Regions from separate parts of the Homo sapiens genome. Here all the other regions are linked to region 6. Evidence: promoter capture Hi-C in 16 types of primary human blood cells and fetal thymus (Javierre and others, 2016). All regions are on one chromosome and are shown on one strand. Each heading gives the region's core, a stretch centred on a gene start or on the middle of the fragment in contact. The rest is flanking DNA. Distances are from core to core; before and after follow the strand shown.

Region 1 (4,037 bases), core at 326-2,825, 270 kb before region 6:
ATGATGTCAGCTCACTGCAACCTTCGCCTCCCGGGTTCAAGCGATTCTCGTGCCTCAGCCTCCCTGAGTAGCTGGGATTACAGGCGTGTGCCACCATGCCTGGCTAATTTTTGTATTTTTAGTAAAGACAGAGTTTTGCCATGTTGGTCAGGCTGGTTTCGAACTCCTGACCTCCGGTGATCCGCCTGCCTCGGCATCTCAAAGTGCTGGGATTACAGGCATGAGCCACCGCGCCCAGCCCAGAGCTCTTAATGCTCATGTTATGTTGTTTCTCCTAGTGTGCAACACACACACACAAACACACACACACCCTGCTCTGGGCTGGGCAGTGTGGAGTCCTATCAGGACCCCAAATATCTCTAAAGAGACTGCCTCCCATCAGCACACACATACCACTCAGGGCTGTTTACAACCTCACCCTGTGACAAGTATTTCTATCACACACACAAGCAGTCCTGGCCTAGATTCATCAGCCTTCTGCCTACTCATCCTTCAAGACTCAGCTCCTTGGGGAAGCCTCTGCTGTCCCCCGGCTGTGTGAGCACTCCTCTCTGAGTCCCTCTCCCTCTGTGTTTGTGCTGATCCAGATCAGAATCATTGCCTAGGGCCTCCAGGAAGCTGTGGGCCCAGCTCTCAGAGCTCATGGGGGTGCTTGCTGGGTGAAACAGAGGGTCCTGGGACCAGGGGCCACTCAGCGCTGCTGCACTGAACAACCACAAGCCTAGAAGGGGCCTCTCTGGGGTCCTCCCTCTTTTTCCCAGCTCCACCTCATGTTGCCTCCTCCTCCTCCTCTTCCTCCCACCTCTCTGAAGAGTCTGAAGCTTCCCTCCTACTCTGGAGAATTTGTGATTAATGCAGGCGGGATGGGTGGCAGGGTTCCTGGGCCCTATTCTTGGCTGTGGCCTCATTCTGGAATGTGCCCTGAGGTCAGGTGACACTCCTCACTCAGGCTGTGTCAGGAGGAAGGAAGAGTAAACCTCCAGCTGACATCTCCTGAGGGAGAGGGCAGGGTGGGCAGGTGGGCAAGCCCCTCACCCCTCTCCTGCCTGCCTCCCAGGCTCCTGAGGCCCTCGACCCATTTCAGGGTCACGTTGGAGTCCCTGCGGTCCCGTCCCAAATTACCCCGGGACACGGTACTCCACTAGGTCTCCAGCAATACTCTGGCCACCCTCAACCCCACTCGGATGAGGGAAAGCAGAACCCAGCCCAACATAGACTAGCCTCTCCTGGAGGTGGGGCCTCTTCCCAGGTGTCTGTCAGGGGCAAAGGGGGCACTTGCGTGCTTTCGGCCCTTTTCAGGCCTTGAGGACACTGCCAGAGACCCGACGGGAGGAGGTGGACCCATCCAGATAACTTGTTTTCTGTTTTGATGTGAGGGATGCATCCAATTCTGTCCATAGTCTAAGTGAGAGCAGACGACGGTGACTTTATCTCCTTTCTGGGTGGGTAGCCTGGAAGCGAGGAGGGGCCTAGGGTTTTCTCAAGGACCCTGGGCAGGGGAGAAGCACAGTGCCAGGAGTGGGGTGGACATGAGAATGCTAACCCCTGCGCCAGGCACTTTACGTGGACTGCCCGGTTGAATCCTCCCAACCCTCTGAAGGCACCATATTATTTTACTATTTCACCACTTGGCAGATCACACTCTAAGCTGCAACCTTCAGGAGGGCAAAGACCTATACACCAAACACAAGCCTGACCATGTTCATTAAGTGTTTGTCGAATGAATGAATGAATGGGGCAAGCCCTATAGGCTTTATGGAGGAAAAGAGGCCCTCATAGGTGCTATTTTACAGATGCTGAATCGGAGACTCTAAATGTTTAAAGGACCCAAGGCTATAGGGTCATTAAATGAAAGAGCCAAGATTCAAAGCCAAGTCTGTCCGAATTTGGTACCTGTACCCTTATCACGATATTACATATGTATTTTAACCATCGCAGTTAAAGGCTGAGGACCCCAAATGGCGGTTCCCCTTCTAAACACCCATAACCACCACTTCCAACTGGTCCTTGACCTCTGGGAGTACCAAGGGTTTACAGAAATTTTATAAAGCCATACCCTTCAATACTGTTAGTACTGAATTCATGTAAATGAATTTAAATTAAATAAAAACGTAAAATTCATTTCCTCAGTTACGCTAGTTATGGATCAAGTGCCATGTTTCATGTGGCTGGTAGCTGCCATACTGGACAACACAGACAGAATATTTCCAACATTACAGGAAATTCTATTGCACACCCCTGTTACAAAGGATTGACACAAATTTCTCTTTACTCCCATTGTCTCATGACCCTGATCTCAGCCTCAGTATGCCCTCATCTTTTCTCCTGAAAAGCTTATACATCTTTTTTCTTTTCTCTCTTTTTTTTTTTTTTTTTTTTTTTTGGAGATGGAGTTTCACTCTCTTACCCAGGCTGGAGTGCAATGGTGCAATCTCGGCTCACTGCAACCTCTACCTCCTGGCTTCAAGTGATTCTCCTGTCTCAGCCTCCCAAGTAGCTGGGATTACAGGCGCCCACCATCACACCCGGCTAATCTTCATATTTTTAGTAGAGATAGGGTTTCGCCATTTTGACCAGGCTGGTCTCGACCTCCTGACCTAAGTGATCCACCTGCCTCGGCCTCCCAAAGTGCTGGGATTAGAGGTGTAAGCCACTGTGCTTGGCCAGGTTTATATATCTTCATGCAAATAAAGTTCTTGATGGCCTCCCTCAATACCCCAGAGTTCCCAAAAAGGGACACAAATAAGTGCGCACACACACGCAGCACCAGCAGTCATGACACGCAGGTGAAGATGAGTTCTCCAAACTTTTAGCTGAATATGGTAGGGGTGCTGCTGATGGGAAGGAGACAGTGGGAATGAGAGGCTAAGTCCTCCCATGGCACAGCACAGTGCCCATGACAGCTGCCGCCTCCCAGGAATCAGCCTGCCACCAGGCCAGTTATTCAGCAGCTTTTCAGAGACACCTATGCTGCAGCTGTCATCTTGTTTCTTGCATGGAAGTGCTGACTAAAAGTCTAATAATTATTTTGTTAGTGGTCATTGCTGCTATAAGTGTGCTGCATAAATGTTTAAAAAGAGGGCCCAGGGGGCTCTGTTCTGCAGGATGGGGGTGGTTAAAGACGTCAAGAACTAGGCCTACTTTAAGAGATACACGTGAAATTTAGAAAATGACAAGAGGGTAAAACTGATTACTATCTTTGGAAACCCTTGGTGATATAGGATAAAAACAAGTATAACATGCCCAAATACAGGAAAAGTCATGTAACTAATAGAGATATCATTTGTCAGATTACTTATGCTCACATAGAAGGGGATATGATAGTCTGTACAGCTTATGCACATGAACTGCCAAAATGCAATGTGAAGGTTGGCCTGACAGATGACGCTGCAGCCTGTTGTACCAGCCTGTGCTGACCTGCAGGCTTCTCAATAGGTTCGGCATGGACAAGATCTATGATGGCCAAGAGAAGGTGACCAGAGATGAATTATAATGTGGAAAGCATTGATGGTCAGCCCGGTGCCTTCACCTGCTATTTGGATGCAGGCTTTGCCAGAACTACTATTGGCAATAAAGTTTTTGGGGCACTGAAGGGAGCTGTGGATGGAGGCTTGTCTATCCCTCACAGTACCAAATGATTCCCTGCTTATGATTCTGAAGGCAAGGAATTTAATGAAGAAGTACATCAGAAGTACATCATAGGTCAGAATGTTGCAGATTGGATGCATCACCTAATGGAAGAAAATAAAGATGCTTACAAGAAAGAGTTATCTCAATACATAAAGAACAGTGTAACTACAGACGTGGTGGAGGAGATGTGTAAGGAAGCTCATGCTGCTATACAAGAGAATCTAGCTGTGTTAGTCTGTTCTTGCACTGCTATAAAGAAATGCCCAAGACTGGACAATTTATGAAGAAAAGAGGTTTAATTGGCAGGCTATGCAGGAAACATAGCAGCTTCTGCTTCTGGGGAGGCCTCAGAAAACTTACAATCATGGCAGAAGGCAAAGGGGAAGCAGGCACGTCTTACATGGCTA
Region 2 (4,050 bases), core at 1,400-3,899, 300 kb before region 6:
ATTATTTACGGATAGGGGAAGGCCCTGCATAACTTCTGTGTCAGTCTCCGGAATGGCTCATATGCAAATGGAGAAGGAATCACTGGATCTGGGTGGATGCCTTCTGGGGAACAGAGTTGTCTTTCGGTGTTCCAGGAGCTGCAGATACAACTTTGAAGGCAGTGGCTCGAAACCCTGGCTGCAAGTAAAAATCACCTGGGAGTTTTTTTTTAATTTTTTATTTTTATTTTTATTATTTTTTTTGAGACGGAGTCTTGTTCTGTCGCCCAGGCTGGAGTACAGTGGCATGATCTCGGCTCACTGTAACCTCTGCCTCTTGGGTTCAAGCGATTCTCCTGCCTCAGCCTCCCGAGTAGCTGGGATTACAGTCATGTGCCACCACACCTGGCTAATTTTTGTTATTTTTAGTGGAGATGGCATTTCACCATGTTGGCCAGGCTGGTCTCGAACTCCTGACCTCAAGTGATCCACCCACCTTGGCCTCCCAAAGTGCTGGGATTACAGGCATGAGTCACTACACGCCTGGCCACCTAGGAGCTTCTTAAATCTACCACACATGGCAACCACTCTGGCAACTGATATATTAACTGTTTGGGGCTAGGGTGCAATGTCTGGGTGGAAGGGGAAGCTTCTGTAAAGGAGATGAAGAAGAAGCTACCAGGGAAGTGGGTAGAAAGCCAGGAGAAAAAAGGTCACAACACAGATGTAGGGGGAGAGTGGTCAGGAAGGAGGATGTGGTCAACAGGTCACAAGCTGCAGAAAGGCAAGAAAACGAGGACTGGTTGTGTCATTTAGGGCCATGGTAGTCACTAGCAGCAGGTGACTTTAGCAGCAGGTGACTTTAGCAGCAGGCTTGTCAGCAAAGTAACGTGTGGGAGGCTGGATCACAGAGTTCAGGAGAATGAGTTCAGGGACTTGGGAGGTGAGAAAATGGAGCCAGGATGCGGACTGACTTGGAAGGTAGAAAGAGGCAGGGCTGTTCATGGAGGGGGAATACGGGGTGGAAGGAATGATGTAATGATCTGTTGAGGATAAGAGAGACATGAATGTGTATAAAGGTGGCAGGTATTTGGGAGACAGAAGGCGTAATTGATGGTATAAAGTTCCTAAGGAGGTGGAAAGAAAGGGAAGTGTTGGGATCCAACACATTGTTGGCAGCATTGACCTTAAATAGGAGGGACACCTCCTCAGTTGTAACAGGGTGGAAGGTGGAGAGGGTGTGGTGGGGGCAGGGTGGCTCATTTTACTTGGTGGGGGTCAAGAACATCCATCACTCAGAATTTACTCATGAATGCGGTGACTGGATTTTCAGAGGCACGTGGCCTTGATAGAGGCCTCTCTCTACGTCCTCTCTTTCTTTCACGTCTCCCTCGTGGCAGCCAGACCTGGAGGCACTGTCCCAGTGATGAGTTAGCTGGGGGAGTGTAGGGGCTGGCCACCCTTTCTTTCTGGCCCATCTTCTCCACCTGTGGCAGGACCCTTGGGGAAGGAAGCTGGAAGGTTGAAGCCTGGCCTAAGCCTAAGCCCCAGGGTTCATCAGGGTCTACTATACTAAGGGTCTCTGCATTGGGGGCAGGGCTCAGGCACCAAGATGACTCCCTCCCTGAGAAACCCCAGAGGGAAGGGGATACTCGGGCATTGAGCCCTCACTCCAGCACCCTAACACCTTCTACCCTCAGTGGTGGGGTCTTTGCCTTTCTGATCCTCATGTACCTGAGGCCACAGTGGGCAGGTTGTACCTGCCCTGTGCCCTGCAGGCACAAAGGGGCTGGCTCCCTTGCATGGGCCCCCTCTTTATCCTCCAATTCCCTCCTGTTTTCCTTCTGCTGACTCAGAGTTAGGAACAGAGCCTCTCCAAACTTTGGGAAGCACCTCTCCTGCCATCTACCATGGTGTCTGACTGCTGGACTTAGGGAGAGAAGCGCCTTCCCCCCGGCTCCTCACTGGCAGAAAGTCCTCCTGGTGGCTCCCGATGAATGAGCCTGGCCCATTTTCTGCCCATCCTCTGTACCCAGCAGTGCCCCCAATCATTCCACCATGAAATGTGCAGTAGCTTTCTATCCCTCAACTATTTCATGCTCACTTGGCCCAAATGCGGACAGTCATGGGTTCTTCTGCTTTTGATATGGAAACGCTGGGAAGGGAAGAGCGTGGTCCCTTTAAATGATACGGAACAGCGCAAGGGAAATGTTGGGTAGAGGAAGGTTGTGCTCCCTGGCGAGGGCTCCACCCTCGTGGACCTAGGTTAGGACAGGCACTCCTGCTTTTGCACCCAAATGTTGCATTTCCCAAGACCACCCTGTCCTGCCACACCCCCATCCTGTGCCTATAAAAACCCGAGACCCTAGCAGGGCAGAGACAGAAGCGGCTGGACATCTAGAGGAGTATATTGGCGGTGGGACACACAGGCGGCTGGATGTCAAGAGGAACGCACTGGCACCGGCATCGGCATGCCAGCAGGCCACTGACCAGCAGAAGGACGCAGAGTTTGGCTGGGGCAGTTGGAGGAGAGCCTGGGACACCAAGCGGCCCAACTCCAGAGGAAAACCATCTCCCTTCTGGCTCCCCCATCTGCTGAGAGCTACTTCCACTCAATAAAACCTTGCACTCATTCTCCAAGCCCACGTGTGATCTGATTCTTCTGGTACACCAAGGCAAGAAACCCTGGGATACAGAAAACCCTCTGTCCTAGTGACAAAGTAGTGGGTCTAATTGAGCTGACTAACCCAAGCTGCCTACAGATGGCAAAACTGAAAGAGCACCCTGTAACACACGCTCACTGGAGCTTCAGCTGTAAACATTCACCCCTTGACACTGCCGTGGGGTCAGAGCCCCACAGCCTGCCCATCTGTATGTTCCCCTAGAAGTTTGAGCAGCAGGGCACTGAAGAAGCGAGCCATACCCCCATCGCACACCATCTGAGGGGGACAAAGGAACCTTTCCCGTGAGACTTTTTTTTTTTTTTTTTTTGAGACGGAGTCTCACTCTGTCGCCCAGGCTGGAGTGCAGTGGCGCGATCTCGGCTCACTGCAACTCCTGCCTCCCAAGTTCAAGCGATTCTCCTGCCTCAGCCTCCTGAGTAGCTGGGACTACAGGTGCTCGCCACCACACCTGGCTAATTTTTGTATATTAGTAGAGACAGGGTTTCACCATATTGCCAGGCTGGTCTCAAACTCCTGACCTCATGATCCGCCCACCTTGGCCTCCCAAAATGCTGGGATTACAGGCGTGAGCCACCACGCCCAGCCTCCTGTGAGACTTTCAGTCTGCTTGCTGCAAGCTAGAGCAGTGACTAATATATATTTTCTGTGGTCTACCTCTTCACTTAGCTACATACTGTTTTGTTGTTTCCCTCAAATCGCCACTCCCAAGATCAACCCAAAACAGAGTTCAAAGTGCAAAGCAAGCCTTTCTGAAATAGAAGGCAAAAATCAAAGCCTCCTTCCTGGTGGTGGTGTAGGCATGGGTGAGAGATTCTACCCTCTGAGTCCCACTTGGACTTGTGTGGACTCCCTCCTCTCCAGCCACCCTGGCTGTCTTCCAGTTCCTCCAATGCTCTGTGCCACCTCCCATCTCACAGCCTTTGCATATACTGTCCCCTCTTTGTCCAGCTAACTATGATTTATCCTTCAGGTCTCAGTATTGATGTCACTTCTTCTAGAAGCCCTTACCTGACCTTGCTTTTAATGGGAAATAGGGCTTTTACCCTCTAATGCTGTTCCCCTAGAATCTGAGCTGGCCACATATTTGAAGTCTACTCCAGCCAACATTATGGTCTGGATCATAATCATGGTCTGTTTGCTTAGAGGCTACTGATGGTGCTTTCCTCTAAGCCCACACTCAAGACCCCTGTCATGAGCATTGCTAAGGGCACAGGCTTTGAGAAGAGCCCCAGATGTTCTATCTTATATCCTAAAGAGAATTCTGGCAGGATTCTTGTCTCTGCCTCCTGATTCGTCATGAGCAGTGAAGCTGAGCAGCTGAAACTGGTTTCCACCACAGTTCCCTCATGTCTATTCCATTTGTATATTGCTCTACATTTTATTTTTT
Region 3 (3,729 bases), core at 926-3,425, 410 kb before region 6:
CAACCTCCAACTCCCTGGTTCAAGTGATTCTCCTGCTGCAGCATCCCAAGTAGCTGGGATGACAGGCACACACCGCTACCCCTGGCTAATTTTTGTATCTTTAGTAGAGACAGGGTTTCACCATGTTGGCCAGAATGGTCTCGAACTCCTGACATCGTGATCTGCCCACCTTGGCCTCCCAAAGTGCTGAGATTACAGGCGTCAGCCACCGCGCCAGGTCCAGGTAGGTAGACTTTTGAGGCAGTCTGGAAACCATGGTTCTGGTGCTATCATATTAATAGTTATGTGGCCTAGGGCAAGTTATTCTCTGTGGTTGAGCCTCTCTCCATTGTCCCTTTCAGTTCCAAAATGGATGATTCCACTTAAAAAAACAAAATGTAAACTCACTTTTTTTTTTTTTTGAGGTAGAGTCTTGCTCTGTCGCCCAGGCTGGAGTGCAGTGGTGCAATCTTGGCTTACTGCAACCTCCGCCTCCCAGGTTCAAGTGATTCTCCTGCCTCAGCCTCCCAAGTAGCTGAGACTACAGGCATGCACCACCACGCCCAGCTAATTTTTGTATTTTTAGTAGAGACGGGGTTTCATCATGTTGGCCAGGATGGTCTTGATCTCCTGACCTCGTGATCCGCCCACCTCAGCCTCCCAAAGTGCTACTCACTTTAACTCTAAGCTAGCAAAATAGTCTGGCTAAGCATTACCTGAATCAAAATTTTAAATTTTAAATGCAGAGAGCGGAATAATGCCACATTCAGTAACTTTCTGTTTTGACCACCAGCAACATCTTAAGATGAGACTCCTTATTTAATTGGGAAGAATTCAATCTGCAGGCAGACATCTAAAGTCTTGGGTGACATTCTGTATTTGAAATTGTAATAAGAAAACTGGCCAGGAACGGTAGGCTCACATCTGTAATCCCAGCACTTTTGGAGGCTGAGGCGGGTGGATCACTTGAGGCCAGGAGTTTGAGACCAACCTGGCCCCATCTCTACCAAAAATACCAAAAAAAAAAAAAAAAAAAATTAGCCGGGTGTGGGGGCGCGTGCCTGTATTCCCAGCTATTTGGGAGGCTGTGGCAGGAGGATCACCTGAGCCGGGGAGGTAGAAGTTGCAGTGAGCCGAGACTATGCCACTGCACTCCACCCTGGGCGACAGGGCAAGACCCTGTCTCAAAAAAAAAAAAAAAAAAAAAAAAAAAAAGAAAGAAAATAATCGATAGGATAAACAAATGAGTTTTCCCTCAAACAGGCAACTACAGGCAGCAGCAGCAAATCGGTTGCAGTGAAACAACAGAGAAGCAGAATGGTGATGCAAATGTGTTTTTTTTTCCTGGTCTTGGCTAAGGAAATCGTGCTAGTTTATAAAATTCATATTTGCTCAGTTGCTTATGCTTTTAGCTCTGCAAGATGCGTTCTCCAGAAGCACCTACGGCAAATTAACTCAACACTCGAATTGGGGTGAGCTCCAACGCATAGTCGCTGAGAATCACTGCCTCCAGCACCGCTCTGACCAAGTGAGCCGGGAGCGCGGGGGAAGGGGGTAGGGCACCAGAGTCCCAGTGGGCGCTGCCCCGAGTGGACCACGTGGGCCGGGATTTGGGCAGGACGCGCTCCCGACCGCACGAGGCATGGGGGCCAGGGCTGGCCTCAAGAGAGCACAATCTCGGAGGCCCGAGGTGGCAGGCCTCGCCGTAGCCAGGCGTCCCGCGCTGGGCCCAGGTCGCGACTGACTGCCCCACGCCTTCCGACCGGCTGCCCTGACCCTAGGCCTCCCCCGCTCCCCACTTACCAGCCGTTGACCTCATTTTGGGAGTTCACATCCACCCCGCTCTCCACCAGTTTCTGCACCTCCCGAATGTCCCCTAAGGCCGCGGCCTCCCGCAGCCTCTCCTGCTGCTCCTTCTGCTCTAGGAGGGCGTTCATCTTCCCACAGCCCCAGGCCCCCGCCCAGGCCCGCCTGCCCCGCCCCGCCCGGGGCCTGTCAGCGCCGCCGCCGTCGCCGCGGCCCGCTCCCGGCCATGGGGAGGGAGCGCGGAACTCGCCCGCCCTGCTCGCGCCGCTGCCCGCGCCCGCCCCGGGACTTCCGCTCCCTCCCGCGGGCCGCCCCTGCTGCTCCCGGCCCGCAGGCCCAGGCCTCCTCCCGGGCCGCGCCTCCCGAAGGCCGGCTCCGGGGGACCCTGTTCAGTGTGACAACGCTGACCCAGATATTTTCCGTTCCGACCCGGGGCTCCGGCGCCCGGGCTGGCTGTTTATGTAACTACTGCACAATATTATATGCCATGATTCATTGACTATTTTTAGACTTCCCCACCCCGCAGTTTCAAGGGAGGAGGACAAGACACATGAAAAGAGAAAAAAGCATAGCTGAGGGCCAGAAAAGCCTTATCCTCTGGTGCAGGCTGTTTACCAGGCATCCAAAATAATTGGTGGGTTCTTTTTATTGGGATTTGGGGTTTTTTTGTTATTTTCCCCCAGTTTGGTTGGCTCCTTTTCCTTATCTGAGCCAATTCGTGCCCAGCAGGATGGGGAAATGGGCTGAAAACGATCCTACTATAATACGCCCATTATTACAGAGATAGATTAGACTCTTCTTCTTTTTGACAGTGCTTGGGGACAATTCAGTTAGAATATTTATTTCAATTGTTGTTGTTTTACATCTCATTTTAGACAGGATTTCTTCTAACCTGGCTTTCAGGAAAAATATTTATATTGTGCTCACAGTTTATGAACTGTAATTACTGCTTACAGATTGTAATTAGTTACTCTTCATGAAGGCCATATAAGGAGAAAAGAAAGGAAAAACACCAAAGAGGCTTTGGAGGTGTCCTGGTCCTGATTCCAAGTGCTCTGGGAAGAGCTGTGGTGTACATGTAAACAGCATTTTGCTTCACTTCTTGCCCGATCTATCTAATGAGGCTCAGAGCCTCAGTTGGCACTGTTTTATACCCAGTGGGAGAAAAAGGAAATATTGTTTTGTTGAGCCCAGGTGCCCTGAAGAGATCCTCCGATGTGGCACAGGATGGAACTTTACAGATGGGGTCAAGATTAAGGAAATAGCCCTGGGGAGGAAGGGAGGAAGGCCTGAACAAGGAGAGATGAAATAGGAAGGGATAAATTTAGGCATGGAGTTTTCATTTCCGTCTCTTGGGGCTGCTGGGATCTGCACAGCAAGCATTTTTCTTGCTACAGTTTAAGAAAAACCAATGTCTGTTTGTTTAGTATGATACAGTAATTCACACAGTACACAGTGCACACCAGGTGGTGCTGAATATAAACTGACTACACACTTAAATTGACCCCCATGGCAAATTGTAACCCTGCTTGAGCTTACATTTTCATTTGTTCCCCCAATTTAAATTTTAATTCTCACATCCAGCATGATACTCTATCTGAAACTGATGTGTATGGCACTGGATTTGAGTCCTTCAACACAATTTCAGTGACATGGGAGTAGGTAGTGGCTTGTTGTTTTTGTTTGCTTGTTTTTGAGACAGAGTCTCACTCTGTTGCCCAGGCTGGTGTTCGGTGGGGCGATCTCTGAGCTCCTTGCAACCTCTAAGTCCAGGTTCAGGCAATTCTCCTGCCTCAGCCTCCCGAGCAGCTGGGATTACAGGCCTGTGCCACCATGCTCGGCTAATTTTTGTATTTTTAGTAGACATGGGGTTTCACCATGTTGGCCAGTCTGGTCTCCAGCTCCTGACCTCATGTGATCTGCCAGCCTCAGCCTCCCAAAGTG
Region 4 (4,039 bases), core at 1,155-3,654, 330 kb before region 6:
TGAAAATACAAAAATTAGCCAGGCGTTGTGACACATACCTATGATCCCAGTTACTCCAGAGGCTGAGCTTGCAGTGAGCTGAGACCGCACCACTGCACTCCAACCTGGGCAACCAAGTGAGACCCTGTCTCAAAAACAAAACAAAACAAACAAAAACAGAAAGAAATAATATATAGTTCGGGAGCCTGAGGCACGAGAATCACCTGAACCTGGGAGATGGAGGTTGCAGTGAGCTGAGATGGCACCACTGCACTCCAGCCTGGGCAACAGAGTGAGACTGTCCAAAAAGAAAAAGAAAAAGAAAAGAAAAGAAAAAAGAAAAATAAATAATATATAGTGTTCAGCAATGTGCCTGGTATACAGTAGGTGCCTAATAAAAGCAAGTCACTTTACAAGAGTTCAAAGTCCGTCCCTCCACAACTCTCCCTAAAGCTCTCCAGGCCTGTCTGTTTTCTTAGGTAATGGGTTGGCACCCAGGTTACATGGGGGTGAGATCTCCTTGTAGGGGCACAAGCTTCATGGGTTACAAAGTCAGAAGTGTGAATGTTTCTATTTTCTATAATTGACTTGGATTTCCACCTCCATTTCCCATGTTGCACGATGTGGAAACATTTTTATTACAGAATTCAGGGTTTCCTCAGTCAATTCTTTTTTTTCTGCGACGGAGTCTTGCTCTGTCACCCAGGCTGGAATGCAGTGGTGCGATCTCTGCTCACTGCAACCTCTGCCTCCTGGGATCAAGTGATTCTCCTGCCTCAGCCTCCCGAGTAGCTGGGATTACAGGCATGTGTCACCATACCTGGCTAATTTTTGTATTCTTAGTAGAGACATGGTTTCACCATGTTGGCCAGGCTCGATTCCAACTCTTGACCTTGTGATCCACCCGCCTTGGCCTCCCAAAGTGCTGGGACTACAGGTGTGAGCTACCACGCCTGGCCTCTTCAGTCAATTCTAAGTTTTTGCCTCCCCCTTTGCCCTGGGGTCCCAGCTAATGGTGTCAGCAGGGAGAGGGCTCTGATCTTGGTCGTTCTCGTTTTCTCTGCTGGTATCTGTAAAGATGGTCTCTGGCCCTATCGGGCATCATTTGCTGATTTCCGTTCTCACTGGATTCATTACTGCCCGTGTCCATCCCATCAGCATTCACCATGAGGGCCCGCGGCCCACCTGGCCTCCTTGTTATACCATCCTGATCCTGAGCTTCATGTGGTCCCAGAACCCTCTCTCAGCCACTTCAATGGGAAACTGTGGGGAGGGGTTTGTCTCAGGCCCTCTCTGCCCAGACAAGCCACAGCAGCATGTCTCCTTACGTGTAGAGACATGAGGGTGTTCTGGGAGATGGTACCTCAGTGCCTTCACCAGGAAGTGCCTTCACCACTGCGCCCCTCTACTCCCTGAGCTCTGCAGTGCCCCTACTGCAGCCCAGACAACAGGGCTGGAGTGGGGAGGAGAGAGCCATCGTGTGATCAGTGTTTTTACTGAGGCAAGGACCTCAACTTTGAAGCTAGTATCCAAGACCTAGCTCCACTGGCTTCTCTTCATTTCTTCTGAAACATTCCTGCCCCAAGGACATCCTTGCTGCCACCTGCATTGGGGCGGGGCGGTATGACATGCTAGAGAAAGAAGCCTGGTTAACATTTCCTAATCTAGCTTGGCACATCTTTTGCCCTGTTTTCAGGGTACTCCTAGTACAGACTGACACATGCCCGCCCCATAGCACCCTAGGGAAGTTTATGCTCCCAGTAATGAGTAGGGCAGAGCCAAGGTGGTGGATGAGGTTTTCTGAGGGTTGGTACTCAGCCCCTTCTGGGAGGGGAGACGATCCTGGTTGTAAACAATAGAAAACAACCCTGGTTAACTATAGCCCAAAAATAATTTTCTGGAATGATGATGGATGGTTCATAGAGTCACAGGGTAAACTGGAACCAGCCTGACAAATTGGGCAGGAACCCAGAAGGCTGGGAGGCAGAATCACAGGGAGGGTCTTATGAGGACAATCATGCCAACCTCACAACCATCACTGCCCTTTGATGGTGGCAGCTGGGACCCCAACATTAGAGGAGTGACACCTCAATGGTCCCAGCTTCTCAATAACCCTCAGTCAGTGTCAAAGTCCTAGGCAGGATGAACCAAGGCTGAGTTCCCAAGCACCCCCTGCAGGAATTGGATCTTTGGCCCCCTTAGGCTTCCATAGGGGGAACACTGCCTCCAGCCCATCTTGAGATTTGTATCCTCCCCTCTCGATTGGTATTTGGATGACAAGCAACTAAAATCAGCAAATGCACACATCTCTCTAATTTCCCTGAATGTGCATTTGCCAAGAGGCAGTTTCAAACCTGCCTCATTTGAGCAGTCTACTCAGAGTGCTGTTTGTTTATGCCACTCGGAGAGCTTGCCAAATACAGTGAAGTCATCTGAACAGCCTGAGCGCTTCCAGATAAATACATTGGCCTCCTTTCCATGGCCCCCATAGTAGCTAACATGTACTGAACAGTGGGCCAGGCACTGAGCTCAGCGCTCTACCTGGAGGATTGCCTTGGGCCTTACTGCCATTTTTCCAAGGAAGAGACTGAGGCCCAGTGGTTTACTAGCTTTCCCCAGTTCACACAGGTCTAGATGGGAATAACAGGGACTTGACCCCACACAGCCTGTCGGGCCCTGCTCCCTGGTGATCTAATGGAGCAGACGTTAAACCAATAACCACAGGATTACGTACGTGATTAAAAGGAGCACTGGAAAGGGAAAGAACAGGGTAGGAGGAGGGAGGATGGCAGAGAAGACAATTCATAGGGGTGGGGTGGGTGGGGGTCCCGGGAAGGCCTCTGGAAGAACATTTAAGCTGTGACCCAAATGATGGATTTAGCCAGGCCAAGAGCGAGGGGAAAGAGGCAGTGGCAAGTACCGAGACCTCTGAGGCAGGAGAGAGGGGAATGTGTTCGGGGGATGAAAACAAGGGCCAATGCAGCGGGAGCAGAGGGAGCTGGGGATTTCTGGGTGGGGCCATCAGGCAGGGCCAGGCTGAGCCTTGGTGTTCTTCAGCTCAGAACCCCTCACCTCCTCTCACTGACCCCCACCCCATCCTCTGAGATCCGACCTCACAGCATAGTCAGATCCAACCTCTTCTCCCCACCTCCGCTGCGGCCACCCTAGTCTGATTATTGCAATATCCCCTCCCATTCCCACTGGTCTCCCTGCTTCTGCACCGCCCCCATATCTCTTCTTTCTCAGCAATAAAGTGATCCTTTTAGCATGGAAGTCAGAGCTTGCCAGGCCTCTGCTTCTCATTTTGCTTAGAGTAAGTGCCTAAGTCTTGCAATGGTCTACAAAGCCCTCCACAGTCTGGATCCCAGGAGCTCCTGCAACGTGGTCCCCTCTCTCACTTGGCTGTAGCCCCACTGGCCCTGTGCTCCTTCTCAAGTACACCAGGCAAGCCCCTATCTGGAAGGAGGGCCTTTGCACTGCCCGTTCCCTTGGCCCGGAATGTTCTTTCCTCACATATCCATGGGTCTCTCATCCTTCAGCAGGCCTGCCCGGGCATGTTCTCATAGTGGAGCTCAGGGCAAGAACAGATGGAGATGCTAAGCCCTCTTCTGCCTGCCTCCGGTCTGCTAACATCCTGCTGGCCACAGCAAGCACGTGGCTGAGCCCAGAGTCTGAGTGGGAGGGCACCAGGATGGTAGATGCACACGGTAAAGACACAGGGAGTAAAGCACTGGGGCCCTTGCACACATGATTACAGCCCCTTGATCTGAGCTCCAAATCCCAGGCCTCCTCCTGCACAGCGACCTGCCACCATCAGTAACTCTCTCCACCAGCCACCATCCCATTTTCATTCAGCAAACATTTGTGGAGCACCTGCAGTGTGCAGGCCCTGTTCTAGACACTGTGAGGCAGCTGCACATAAAGTAGACGAAGGCCCTGCCCTTTTAAAGTTTTGTTTTGTTTTTTTTTCTTTTTTTTTTTTTTCGAGACAGAGTCTCTCTCTGTCGTCCAGGCTGGAGTGCAGTGGTGCGACCTCGGCTCACTGCAATCTCTGCCTGTT
Region 5 (3,854 bases), core at 1,316-3,815, 400 kb before region 6:
TCAACTCCCCTTCCCAGAGAGTCAGATTCTGTCTGTCTTGGGGAAGGGTCCCAGTATCTGCATTTTTTATGGCTCCTCTTATGCATTCTTTTTTTTTTTTTTTTTTTTTTTTGAGACGGCGTCTTGCTCTGTCTCCCAGGCTGGAGTGCAATGGCGTGATTTTGGCTCATTGCACCCTCCGCCTCCCGGGTTCAAGCGATTCTCCTGCTTCAGCCTCCCCAGTAGCTGGAACTACAGGCGCCCTCCACCACGCCCAGCTAATTTTTATATTTTTAATAGAGATGGGGTTTCACCATGTTGGCCAGGATGGTCTCGATCTATTGACCTCGTGATCTGCCCGCCTCGGCCTCCCAAAGTGCTGGGATTACAGGCGCGAGCCACCGCGCCCGGCCGGCTCCTCTTATGCATTCTAAAGTTTGTGACCTACTGTTTCCTGACCCATCCTGATTAGTCCTGGGCTTTTAATTGTGCATATCTGCACAATTAAATCTTAATTGGTATTAATTTGGTAGTAGATTCTAATACTGTACTTTTTTCTCCTTTTCATGATGGGTAATAAGTGAGCAAGCAGCACTTGCGAAGCGCAGTTTCAAGTGAAGGATGCATCTGTGATGCAAAATCATCGACCATTTATTTGTAATGGTGTGTATGTAACCTTCACCAAGGTATTTTACTGGGGCTAGTGCTTTTACAGGCATTTCCAACTTTGTAGATTGCTACCTCTGGATCTGAGAAACTGCAGCTAAAGTGAAGTCGGCTTTAATACTGTTTCATGGATTCATTGGTACACCCTCCCACCGTGTTTATTTGTATTTTGCAATTGTTTGAGATTATTGTTTTGGTTTTTTGCACTAAGCAATTGCTTGGTTAATCCTAAACAACCACAGTGATGAGGAAAGCATGTGATTGTAACTAACTGCCTAGGGTGAGTACCTTTCAGTGAGGGTTTGATTTCAGTGTTAGCCAGAGAAGGCACTAGTAGCCATATTATTAGAAGATTGTAGTAAATTGTAAAGTCTGATCGGGAGTTTTGTTATTTTTTATGTAGCAAGACAGAAATTTTGTAGTTCAAATTGAGGTTTTTATATTCTAGATCTCAACCTGAAAATGAAATTACTTAATCATTAACACTGATTCTAATATCTGAAATGAGTTTTCTTCCATTTATCAAACTCAAGCCTACCCTTCCTTCCATGAAGGTTTAACATGAAGGTTTAATAATTTATGAAGGAAATTGAACTATGTTCTTTTCTAAAATCTTTGGAATGTTAGCAGATACTGTCATTGACACTGAAAAGTTGTTTAGAAAAGGAAAAATAGCTAAAGCTTCTGTCCACATTTTTTACTTGTATACTTTTTCTTTTTGCTTTAAAAATGTTCAGAATTTGGGAGCAAAAATTGAAAGCAAAAAACTAGTAATTATAATGCATGATGGCATCTATTAATATGTATTTTACTAGTTTTCATTCAGAGTCACCAAAATGTTCATAGTAACTTACTATGTTACTATGGAGTAAGATAGAAAAGCATTTTCTACCCTGCTCCCTGCCCCCCCCCCTTTTTTTTTTTGAGACAGAGTCTAGCTCTGTCACCCAGGCTGGAGTGTAGTGGCATGATCTTGGCTCACTGCAACCTCCACCTCCTGGCCTCAGCGTCCCGAGTAATTGGGATTGCAGGTGTGGGCCACCACGCCCGGCTAATTTTTGTATTTTTAGTCGACAGGGTTTTGCCATATTGGCCAGGCTGGTCTTGAACTCCTGACCTCAAGTGATCGGTCCGCCTCAGTCTCCCAAAGTGCTGAGGTTACAGGCGTGAGCCACTGCGCCCGGCTGGCATTTCCTACCTTACTCCATAGTAAAATAGTAAGTGTTGGCTTCTCAGAATTGCCAGCAGTCCATGTGTTATATGTGTATGTAATTGCTATTTGCTTTTCTTCCCAAAACATACAGAATTAGAGTGAATAGTATAATAAATTGAACTCCCCATGTACCCATGCCCAATTTAGCAATATTAGCACATAGTCAATATTATTTCCTCTGTATCCCTTCCATTATTTTGAAGCAATTCTGTTATTGTCAACCTTAAAGCGGTCATTGTATATCTGTAAAATACAAGGACTTTAAAAAAAAAACATAGCCGACCGGGCATGGTGGGTCACCTGTAATCTCAACATTGGGAGGCCAAGGCAGGCAGATCACTTGAGGCCAGGAGTTCGAGACCAGCCTGGCCAACATGGTGAAACCCTGTCTCTAATAAAAAATAAAAAAATTAGCTGGGCGTAGTGGTGCATTCCTGTAATCCCAGCTACTCTGGAGGTTGAGGCAGGAGGATCCTTTCAACCCAGGAGGCAGAGGTTGCAGTGAGCCGAGATGGTGCCACCACAGTCCAGCCTGGGCAACAGAGTGACACTCTGTCTCAAAAAAAAAATAGAATAAAATAACCACAATACCATAATCACTGAAAATTATAGTAAGGTATTTCGTAAATCTTTGGTTGCTTTAGGAAAATTGTGTGTGTGTGTGTGTGTGTGTGTGTGTGTGTGTCATTATATATGTTATTAGCCTTGATTTCCTCACAAAAGGAGAAGGTAGCTTAAGTTTGTAAATTTGACTTTTTTGCTAATACAGTTCTTCGTTTTATGAAATATTTTCTCTTTTTTTTTTTTTTTTTACCCCCGAGATGGAGTCTTGCTCTGTTGCCCAGGTTGGAGTGCAGTGGTGTGATCTCAGCTCACTGCAACCTCCACCTCCCGGGTTCAAGCGATTCTCCTGCCTCAGCCTCCAGAGTAGGTGGAATTACAGGTGCATGCCACCATGCCTGACTAATTTTTGTGTTGTTGTAGAGATGGGGTTTCACCATGTTTGCCGGGCTGGTCTTGAACTTTTGACAACAAGTGATCCTCCCTCGGCCTCCCAAAGTGCTGGGATTACAGGGGTGAGCCACCATGCCCAGCCTTTCTCTTCATTTCTTATAGTAAGTTAGGAAAATTGTTGTATTCATTTATCCAACAAAAATGTATTGCTCGGCTGGGAGCGGTGGCTCACGCCTGTAATCCTAGCACTTTGCGAGGCTGAGGCGGGTGGATCACCTGAGCTCAGGAGTTTGAGACCAGCCTGGCCAACATGGCGAAACCCTGTCTCTACTAAAAATACAAAAATTAGCCAGGTGTGGTGGCGCACGCCTGTAATCCCAGCTACTCGGGAGGCTGAGGAAGGAGAATCGCTTGAACCCGGGAGGTGGAGGTTGCAGTGAGCCGAGATCACGCCACTGCATTCCAGCCTGCGTGACAGGAGCAAGACTCCATTTCAAAAAAAAAATTAAAAGTATTGCTCTTAGGTAGATAACAGCAGGATAGTACAGATACAGCACTTGGTCCTAAAGAGCCATCATGTATTGGTGACAGTAAATGCACTTTTTTTTTCCAATGGGGATTATTCCAATTGAATGTAAACGCATTTCCATAACAGAATATGATAAATCCTACCATTGGGAAAAGTAAAATTGACCCTTGAACAACACGGGTTTGAGTTGAGTGTGTCCATTTATACGTGGAGTTTTTTCAATAAATATATTGGAACATTTTTTGGAGATTTGCAACAATTTGAAAAAACTTGAAGACGAATCACATAGCTTAGAAATATTTTTAAAATTTAAGAAAAGATAAGTACATCACAAATACATAAAATAGATGTATATACTAGTTTATCATTTTCCTACCACAAAATACATACGAATCATAAAAAGTTAAACTTTATAAAAACTTATGCACACAGTACATGGTGCCACTAGCAGTCCAGAGAAAGTAAAGCTTGAGTAATAACTGCATAAAATTAACTATAGTACATACTGTAATA
Region 6 (3,707 bases), core at 772-3,271:
CAAGACCATCCTAGGCACCATGGAGAAATCCTGTCTCTACAAAAAACAAAAATGAGCGGGGAGTGTTGTCCTAGCTCCTTAGGAAGCTGAGGCACAAGAATCGCTTGAACCCGGCAGGCAGAGGTTGCAGTGAGCCAAGATCACTCCACTGCACTTCACCCTGGGCGACAGAGTGAGACTACGTCTCAAAAAAAAAAAAAAAAAAAGGCAATTTTGTTTGGCAAATTCAATAGCATTCCTTTGAGAAAATTGGATCCCACAATCAGAACTAAAAATCATCACTACAGTCAAGCTTTTAAAAAAGGAAAAAGAACTATTTAACCAGATGCAAAGGTATACGTGACAAAATAAAACAAAAATTTAATGGTGTTACTATTCAGTGTCAGGAAATGAGCTACAAACCTCACATCCTAAAAACTCTTCAAGTCTTTTTGAAAAATACTATGTCATTCCTTCAATAATTAGTTATTTCGCCTCCTTTGATCACCATGTATTTAAGCAGGTGTGCTAGGTGCTTGAGAAACAAAAATAGGACACATCACCTGCCTTTGATAAGGTCCACAGAAATAACGCCAACGCAGGCTGAAAGCTAAACTCCTTGTCAGTCTCAAGAAGCCAAGGACCTATCACTTGCACCCTAGAACTCCAAAAGGTTCACAGAGTCGAGGTGAGGGCGCCCAGGTCACTGCTCGGGTGCTAGAGTTAACAGGTGGCCAAATGCACGTATAAACAGCAGTCTAAGAAGGAAACTCAGACGGAAAAAGTGTTGCCAACTGTCACCTACATCTTCCCAACCCCGCCCCCCAATCCTTTTTATAAATAAACGGAGGGTTTTTGAAGGGAACTGTCCAAGGTTACAACCTGATACGGAGGAATGCTTTGGTTTGGGATACCAACGAAATTGTTTATATATTTATTGAGTACTGCCACACAACATCTAAAAGTTGACAAAGTGTCAACCAAGGCACATAGAACATAAAATAAGACGTCTTTCTCAACAAGATTAAAACGTCAAGAAGAAACTGACCGAAAGAGGGAGATCTCTAACTTCCCAAAGCAAGGCAACCCCCTGGAAAGGTACTGGAACTAGCGGAAGTTACATATCCAGGGCAGAAGTGTCCCCCTCCCCAAGGGTAAAACTTTGAACCGCCATCTGACTATCCCACGGTGGTCGGAAACTTCCCTCAACAAGAAGCAACCAGACACCCAACAATCTCCGCCCTTGGCCAACCCCAGGTGTCCTCAGGCCAGGCTGCCGCTTCCTCCCCGGGCCCTGCCTCCTCCATCTCGCTCCCTTCCCAGGACACTCAGTAGCCGGCCTCGGCTTCCAACGCCGGCCTGGCTCCCGGGGTACCTGGAGGCCGCCGGGATCGGTCCCAGGGGGCATCGGCCTCAGGCCCGCCCTCCAGGAGGCCCGTCGCGCCTCTAGTCCCCGACCGGGCCGCGACCCCGCCCCGGCCGCCCCCGGAGACGGATCCCGCGGCCCCCGCCCTGCCGCCGGCCTCACCTCCTCAGCGTGCTTGCGCAGCGCCTTCTCCCGCTCGTACTGGGTGATGAGCTGCTCGTTGTCGTCCCGCAGCAGCTCCAGCTCCACCTGGTGCTCCTGGTCCTGCGCGAACACCGAGTCCAGGTTCTCCAGCACAGCCACCACCAGCGGCATCAGCTCTTTGACCACCTCCTCGTCATAGCGCCCGATAAGCCGCTCGAACTCGCGGTAGATGGAGCCGGCCAGGCCGGACACCCGCTCCGACATCACGGCCCCGGAGCCGCCGGGCTCCTCCTGATACACCACACCGTCCTCCAGCTCCATGGTGGCAAGCGGACGGGCGGGCGGCCCGGGGCGTCGCCGGCAGAGGGGCGGCACCTGCCCGCACGGGACGGACCCGACTCGGGCTGGGACGGGTACTAGGGCTGGAGCCCGGGCCGGGGCTGGGGCTGGGCCCGGCGGGGTGGGGGCCGGGGCCGGAGGAGGGGAGGGGTGGCGTAGGCGCTCTCACCCCAACCGCCGCTGCACCAACTGCCGGGGCGGCCCGGCCGCGCGCGCCACACGTCATCCGCGGGGCGGGGCCGGCGCCGCGTCGGCCCGATGGGCGGGGCGCCGCGGGAGGCCAGGCGCGGCCGGGGGCGGGGCCAAGCGTCTTCGGGCGCTGGCGGAGGAAGCCATGGCGTCAACACCCGGCGCCGCGAAGACGGTGCGGGCGCCAATGGGAAAGACTGCGGTCGGCGGGTGGGGAGAAGTATCCATCCACAGCGGGATTCGCGGGGCGGGTCCCAGGGGAAAGGGAGGGGTTCGGGAAGAGTGACGAGTTAACTTAGCTGGCATTTCTATGGCTTTTTAAAGCTCACAAAGCACCTACTCACTTCATCCCCACAACAGGCGTAAAGAGGTAGATATTTGGACCTCGTTTCACAGACAAAGAAACTAGGCCCAGGAAAGTGGCGTTGCTCTCAAGGTCACGCAGCTACAACGGGAAACGGGCTGAGCCGGGACTCAAACCAATTACCCAGATTGAGAATTCCGGGCTCCGAAAAAAACTGGAAACAGAAAGGGAGGGAAAAAAAACCATAACCAGGGTCTGCCCAAGTGGAAAGGTGGTCTCGAATAGAATAGAACTGTTTTGTGCTATGGAAGAGCAAGGGTGAGATGAGGGGAAATGGGAGTGACTGCTAATAGGTATGGGATTTCGTTTTGGGATAATAAAAATGTTCTAAAAAATGTATTATAGTGATGAATACACAACTCTAAATATGCTAAAAGACATTCAACTTTACACGTTAAGTGAGTGAATCATATGGCGTGTGAATTATATCTCAAGTTATTAAAAAATAAACAGGAAGGGTGATAGCATTCTGGAGAAGGGTGAAACTGGAACGTTACATGTGGCACTTTCCCACATAGTGTGTCTGCTACTTCTGGCCAACTTGGGACGGGGACATTTCCAGGCTCCAGCCACCCTCCTCTCCTCAAGTCTTGAAGTGGGGCGGAAAGGGTAAGTGGGAGGTTGGGGAACAGAGGAGGTAAGGGGTGGAGTCACTGGAGTGAATAAGTCCCATGACAAGTGAGGTTTCTGCCGCCTGGGAGAGTGTCACGTGTGGGGAATGACACAACGCCCACGCCTAGAGCGGGCTGAGTCAAGGATCCCGGTGTGCTCATCTAACGTCCGCAAATGGGACGGAAGACACTCTCAAAAGTCCCTTCTCTGTGTCTCAGGTGACTCAGCTCTCCGTCCCGACTCGTTTAAGAAAAGGGGGAGGAAAGGCAGGATAAACATAGGTTTAAGGGGAGAATTGGCCACCCACCGGGATCATAACTACCCTTAGCTTGGGGTTTACAAGTTTAAGTACTTCCCACCAAGTATGAAGTAGTCCCCTAAAGTTTCCTACGCATGACCCACCTGGAGACCCATAAAAACAATATGAAGGTTGGGCAAGAGTAAACCTATAAATTTGGAAGGACAAAGATGAAAATACTAAGTCTTATGAAGTGCCAGATGGGACTGAATTTGCGGCCTGTGTTTTTTCCCGTTCTCACCCTCACCCCACATTCACCCTTATGTCATTTAGATATTTGGGTAGTAGGAATGCCGACCAGCTGGTTGGCTGTGAGCCGCAAATGCCCTTTCTCTTCTTAACCTTTCATATTTGAAAACTAGAAAAAGTCTTGATCTGAATCTCTCCTCTTTTATTTTCTCTTCCTGAGGGCTGTC
Region 7 (3,720 bases), core at 1,168-3,667, 360 kb before region 6:
CATCAGGATTAGGGCACAACTCTACAAAATAAACTGCCCTTGGTGTAAGTATCATACCTTGTGATGTTTTTTATAGCTATTTGTCAAAACCCTAAACTTAACTCTTCTCCCAGCCCAGAGAAATTGGAGATGACGAAACATAATAATTTCTCACAGTTCAAACATGAAGTTAGCCAAACTGGTATATGCATCCAGACTTCATTATTTGTGAAATAATGATTTCAGTTTTTTAATTCCTGGGATTGATTATTTATTTATTTATTTATTTTGAGAGACAGAGTCTTGCTCTGTCGCCAGGCTGGAGTGCAGTGGCGCAATCTCAGCTCACTGCAACCTCTGCCTCCTGGGTTCAGGTGATTCTCCTGCCTCAGCTTCCCATGTAGCTGGGACTACTACAGGTGTGCGCCACCACACCTAGCTAATTTTTGTATTTTTTTTAGTAGAGACTGGGTTTCACTATATGTTGGCCAGGCTGGTCTAGAACTCCTGACCTCAGGTGATCTGCCCACCTTGGCTTCCTAAAGTGCTGGGATTACAGGGGGTGAGCCACCATGCGCGGCCATTCCTGGGAGTATTTAATAAGTCATTTTTGCAGCTTTGCTATCATAGCAGGGCCTTTCTGTCAGAGATGGCACATATTCTGTCAATCTGGAGCTTCCATTTTTCATTAAAATGAGTTCCACTTCCTGAAAGTCCCGCAGTCTTCGAATGTCTTTGTCCTTAATGTAGAAAAGAAATTATATTATGCTTAATAAATTTGAATGTAATAGAAAACCTTAATATTAATATTGTTCAGCATCTTGGGTTCTGAACCCATAAGGTATTGTTTTTTTTGAGACAGAGTCTTGCTTTTGTCGCCCAGGCTGGAGGGCAATGATGCGATCTTGGCTCACTGCAACCTCCGCCTCCCAGGTTCAAGTGATTCTCCTGCCTCACTTGGCTCACTGCAACCTCAGCCTCCTGAGTAGCTGGGATTCAGACATGCGCCATCATGCCCGGCTAATTTTTGTATTTTTTATAGAGACAGTTTTCACCATGTTGGCCAGGCTGGTCTTGAACTCCTGACTTCAGGTGATCTGCCCACCTGGGCCTCCCAAAATGCTGGGATTACAGGTGTGAGCCACTGCGCCCGGTCCCCATAAGATAGTTCTGTATTTTTTTTTTTGAGACAGGGTCTCGCTCTGTCACCTAACCTGGAGTGCAGTGGCACAGTCACAGCTCACTGCAGCTTCAACCTCCTAGGCTCAAGCAATCCTTCCACTTCCACTGCAGCCTCCCAAGTCTACTACACCCAGCTAATTTTTGTATTTTCCTGTAGAGACAGGGTTTCACCATGTTGCCCAGGCTGGTCTCAAATTCCTGAGCTCAAGCAATCCGCCCACCTCGGCCTCCCAAAGTGCTGGGATTACAAGCATGAGACACCACACCCAGCAGATTTTTGTTGTTAAGGTATCTGGAAAGCATGATCATCCCTTGACATGTTAGTTTACAAAGAATATACACTATAAGCCAAGACACCAGTAAGGATTGCCAAAGGAACAGCAGCTCACCACCTGTTATCCCAGCACTTAGGAGGATGAGGCCAGGGGGTTGAGAACAGCCTGGGCAATATAGCCAGACCCATTTCAAAAAAAAGAAATTAATGGAGTGTGGTGGTGTGTCCCTGTAGTCCCAACTACTCTGGAGGCTAAGATGGGAGGATCACTTGAGCTGAGGATTTCGAGGCTGCAGTGAGCTATGATCACGCCATTGCATTCTATTGTGGGTGACAGAGACCCTGTCTCAAAAAAACAAAAAACAAAAAAATTGCCAAAGGAATTTTGAAAGCTTTAAAGAAAAATTTCCAAAGAAATAAGATTTCCTTTCCAAAATTAAAAATTAAGATCTGTATTTTAAATCTGGGAAATATATAAAAATGCAAAACAATTTTTGTTTGCTAATATTTCAAATACTTAGCAAACCCACCCTTTGCTAAGCAAACAAGGATGGGTTTGTGTTTTTTTTTTTCCTGAGGACTATGCCATTTTATGTTAACCAGTCAATTTTGCAGAGATTGGTGGGGCCAAAAGCACTGAACTAAAGCCTTAAATTGGGGAGTCACTTGTCATTCAGAGGTTTGTTTTTTTTTGAGACAGGGTCTAGCTCTGTCGCCAGGCTGGAGTGCAGTGGTGCTATCTCAGCTCACTGCAACCTCCTCCTCCTGGGTTCAAGCAATTCTCCTGCCTCAGCCTCCTGAGTAGCTGGGATTACAGGCACGCGCTGCCATGCCCAGCTAATTTTTGTATTTTTAGTAGAGACGGGTTTTCACCGTGTTGGCCAGGATAGTCTCGATCTCTTGACCTTGTGATCTGCCCACCTCGGCCTCCCAAAGTGCTGGGATTGTACTGGTGTGAGCCACCGTGATCGGACCATTTAGAGGTTTTTAAAAGGTTTATGGATTAGATGTGCAAATCTTAAAAGCGCCAGATTGAAAATGACCTAGCTACCATGTTTGGCCGTTTTGCAGCCAGGATTTCTGGTGTCATGAAATGCAGAAGTGTAAACGATTGGCTCCAGAGAACATGATGTCACCCACTGTGATTCTGCATTTAGAAACTCTTAACCCTTACCTTTCTGAGCAGTGTGTTTGGTAGCTTTCTGATCTTCTCCACTCGTTCTGGTTTAATCCCCAGTTCACAGCAACTCACGTTTAGTAGGTTTTGGTAACTCAGTTCTTGTCTCTTCAGTTCAATTTCAATGAAGTCATTTTCTTTGGGGTTCTGAATTCTGACTTTAAACACAAGCTCTAAATCACCCATAAATTCAAATACAGTTTGTAAAGGAAACAAAATACCTGTCAGAGATTTTCATATCTATTATTACAGCATAAATAATCCTAAAAACTGAATGTTAAGTAGACATGGAGCTTTCATGGGCACATACACACTTTGCATTAGCTGAGGGTTCTTTTCTTGGAGTGTTGGGCAAGCTCTGGGATGTATGCCCCCATTATATCCACTGAAGACAGAAAGCTTGCAGCTTTAAGCCAGCCAAGGATTTAAAATATGCAATGGATATTTAAACACATCACCCTTGGGCAATACATAGCAGGTGCTCATACCTTGTTGCTTATCTGGAAAGCTTCAGGGAAATGTATAGCCCTGGGGGCCCTGGTGTCCTTAAAGAAGCTATTGTGCAGAGGAGCAAATCGCTCTTGAGATTCCTACCCACCACCCCCACTCCTCCAGAAATAGGATAATTCTACCATCTTTCAGGACAGTGGCATTGTATTCCAACTTAACTGTCCTGAGAAGATACAGTATGAACTAAAAGTCCAAATGGAAAGCAGATGGTCAGTTTGGCTTTGCAACCTGGTCACATAGGGGCTGAGTCTTCACCTAGACAGGTGTCACTGGGTTTCTTGTTATCACTTGGGTCCGTTGTTGGCAAGTGTGGATTTGTGCCTTCTTGTTTATATTCACCTGGGAATCAGGAAAGAGTTGAGAAGGAGCAGTACCTGACCAGTTGGCTGTCTGCCAGACAAAGGACAAGGATGCCCCACTTCCACTTCCTGCCCTGCAGCTTATCCTCCCCTTCTCAAGGGAAAAGGCAAGTCAGGAAAAGGGCAGTAATGACTTTCAGTCTTGAAGAGTAATTTTCTTTAATCACCACCCAAATCATGAAAAGGAGCTGAGACAGTATTTTTAAATGGTGCGTAATCTGGGGAAGAAATATTTATAA

What was found. Contacts are between HindIII fragments. The CHiCAGO score rates a contact against its expected background, and 5 or more counts as called.
Region 1: a fragment that was not itself captured here is called in contact with the fragment with the promoter of SPAG9 in region 6 in 7 of 17 cell types (naive B cells, naive CD4 T cells, total B cells and 4 more); the score reaches 5.6 in naive B cells.
Region 2: a fragment that was not itself captured here is called in contact with the fragment with the promoter of SPAG9 in region 6 in 1 of 17 cell types (total B cells); the score reaches 6.5 in total B cells.
Region 3: a contact is called between the fragment with the promoter of ANKRD40 here and the fragment with the promoter of SPAG9 in region 6, in 3 of 17 cell types (naive CD4 T cells, naive B cells and fetal thymus). The highest score is 5.5, in naive CD4 T cells.
Region 4: a fragment that was not itself captured here is called in contact with the fragment with the promoter of SPAG9 in region 6 in 4 of 17 cell types (naive CD4 T cells, fetal thymus, total CD8 T cells and 1 more); the score reaches 6.2 in naive CD4 T cells.
Region 5: a contact is called between a fragment that was not itself captured here and the fragment with the promoter of SPAG9 in region 6, in 9 of 17 cell types (naive CD4 T cells, non-activated CD4 T cells, erythroblasts and 6 more). The highest score is 8.0, in naive CD4 T cells.
Region 7: a fragment that was not itself captured here is called in contact with the fragment with the promoter of SPAG9 in region 6 in 2 of 17 cell types (fetal thymus and monocytes); the score reaches 5.8 in fetal thymus.

Annotation. Positions count from the first base shown.
Region 1 is chr17:50,844,846-50,848,882 of GRCh38, forward strand. It overlaps the pseudogene RPL5P33. Among named protein-coding and RNA genes, the nearest start is that of WFIKKN2, 11 kb to the left of the region's middle. RefSeq lists an enhancer at 1-100. The HindIII fragment of the contact is 1,512 bases long and covers 820-2,331 here.
Region 2 is chr17:50,818,427-50,822,476 of GRCh38, forward strand. No RefSeq gene overlaps it. Among named protein-coding and RNA genes, the nearest start is that of WFIKKN2, 15 kb to the right of the region's middle. RefSeq lists an enhancer at 864-923. The HindIII fragment of the contact is 4,047 bases long and covers 627-4,050 here.
Region 3 is chr17:50,705,739-50,709,467 of GRCh38, forward strand. ANKRD40 (ankyrin repeat domain 40) reads right to left here and starts at 2,176. Exons shown (of 5, transcript NM_052855.4): 1 at 1,783-2,176. The coding sequence starts at 1,916. RefSeq lists silencers at 1,512-1,781, 1,912-2,121. The HindIII fragment of the contact is 9,335 bases long and covers 1-3,729 here.
Region 4 is chr17:50,783,718-50,787,756 of GRCh38, forward strand. No RefSeq gene overlaps it. Among named protein-coding and RNA genes, the nearest start is that of MIR8059, 17 kb to the left of the region's middle. The HindIII fragment of the contact is 3,784 bases long and covers 513-4,039 here.
Region 5 is chr17:50,722,104-50,725,957 of GRCh38, forward strand. All of the region lies in intron 1 of LUC7L3 (LUC7 like 3 pre-mRNA splicing factor), which reads left to right. Among named protein-coding and RNA genes, the nearest start is that of LUC7L3, 4.4 kb to the left of the region's middle. RefSeq lists an enhancer at 2,833-3,332. The HindIII fragment of the contact is 2,482 bases long and covers 1,325-3,806 here.
Region 6 is chr17:51,118,847-51,122,553 of GRCh38, forward strand. It overlaps SPAG9 (sperm associated antigen 9), which reads right to left and starts at 2,022. Exons shown (of 30, transcript NM_001130528.3): 1 at 1,508-2,022. The coding sequence starts at 1,810. RefSeq lists silencers at 1,275-1,404, 1,425-1,504, 1,755-2,134 and enhancers at 1,535-1,654, 1,944-2,758, 2,275-2,504, 3,114-3,373. The HindIII fragment of the contact is 3,961 bases long and covers 291-3,707 here.
Region 7 is chr17:50,760,788-50,764,507 of GRCh38, forward strand. It overlaps ANKRD40CL (ANKRD40 C-terminal like), which reads right to left. Exons shown (of 4, transcript NM_001358683.3): 3 at 2,610-2,770; 4 at 243-719. The coding sequence ends at 576. Among named protein-coding and RNA genes, the nearest start is that of ANKRD40CL, 4.9 kb to the right of the region's middle. The HindIII fragment of the contact is 1,184 bases long and covers 1,826-3,009 here.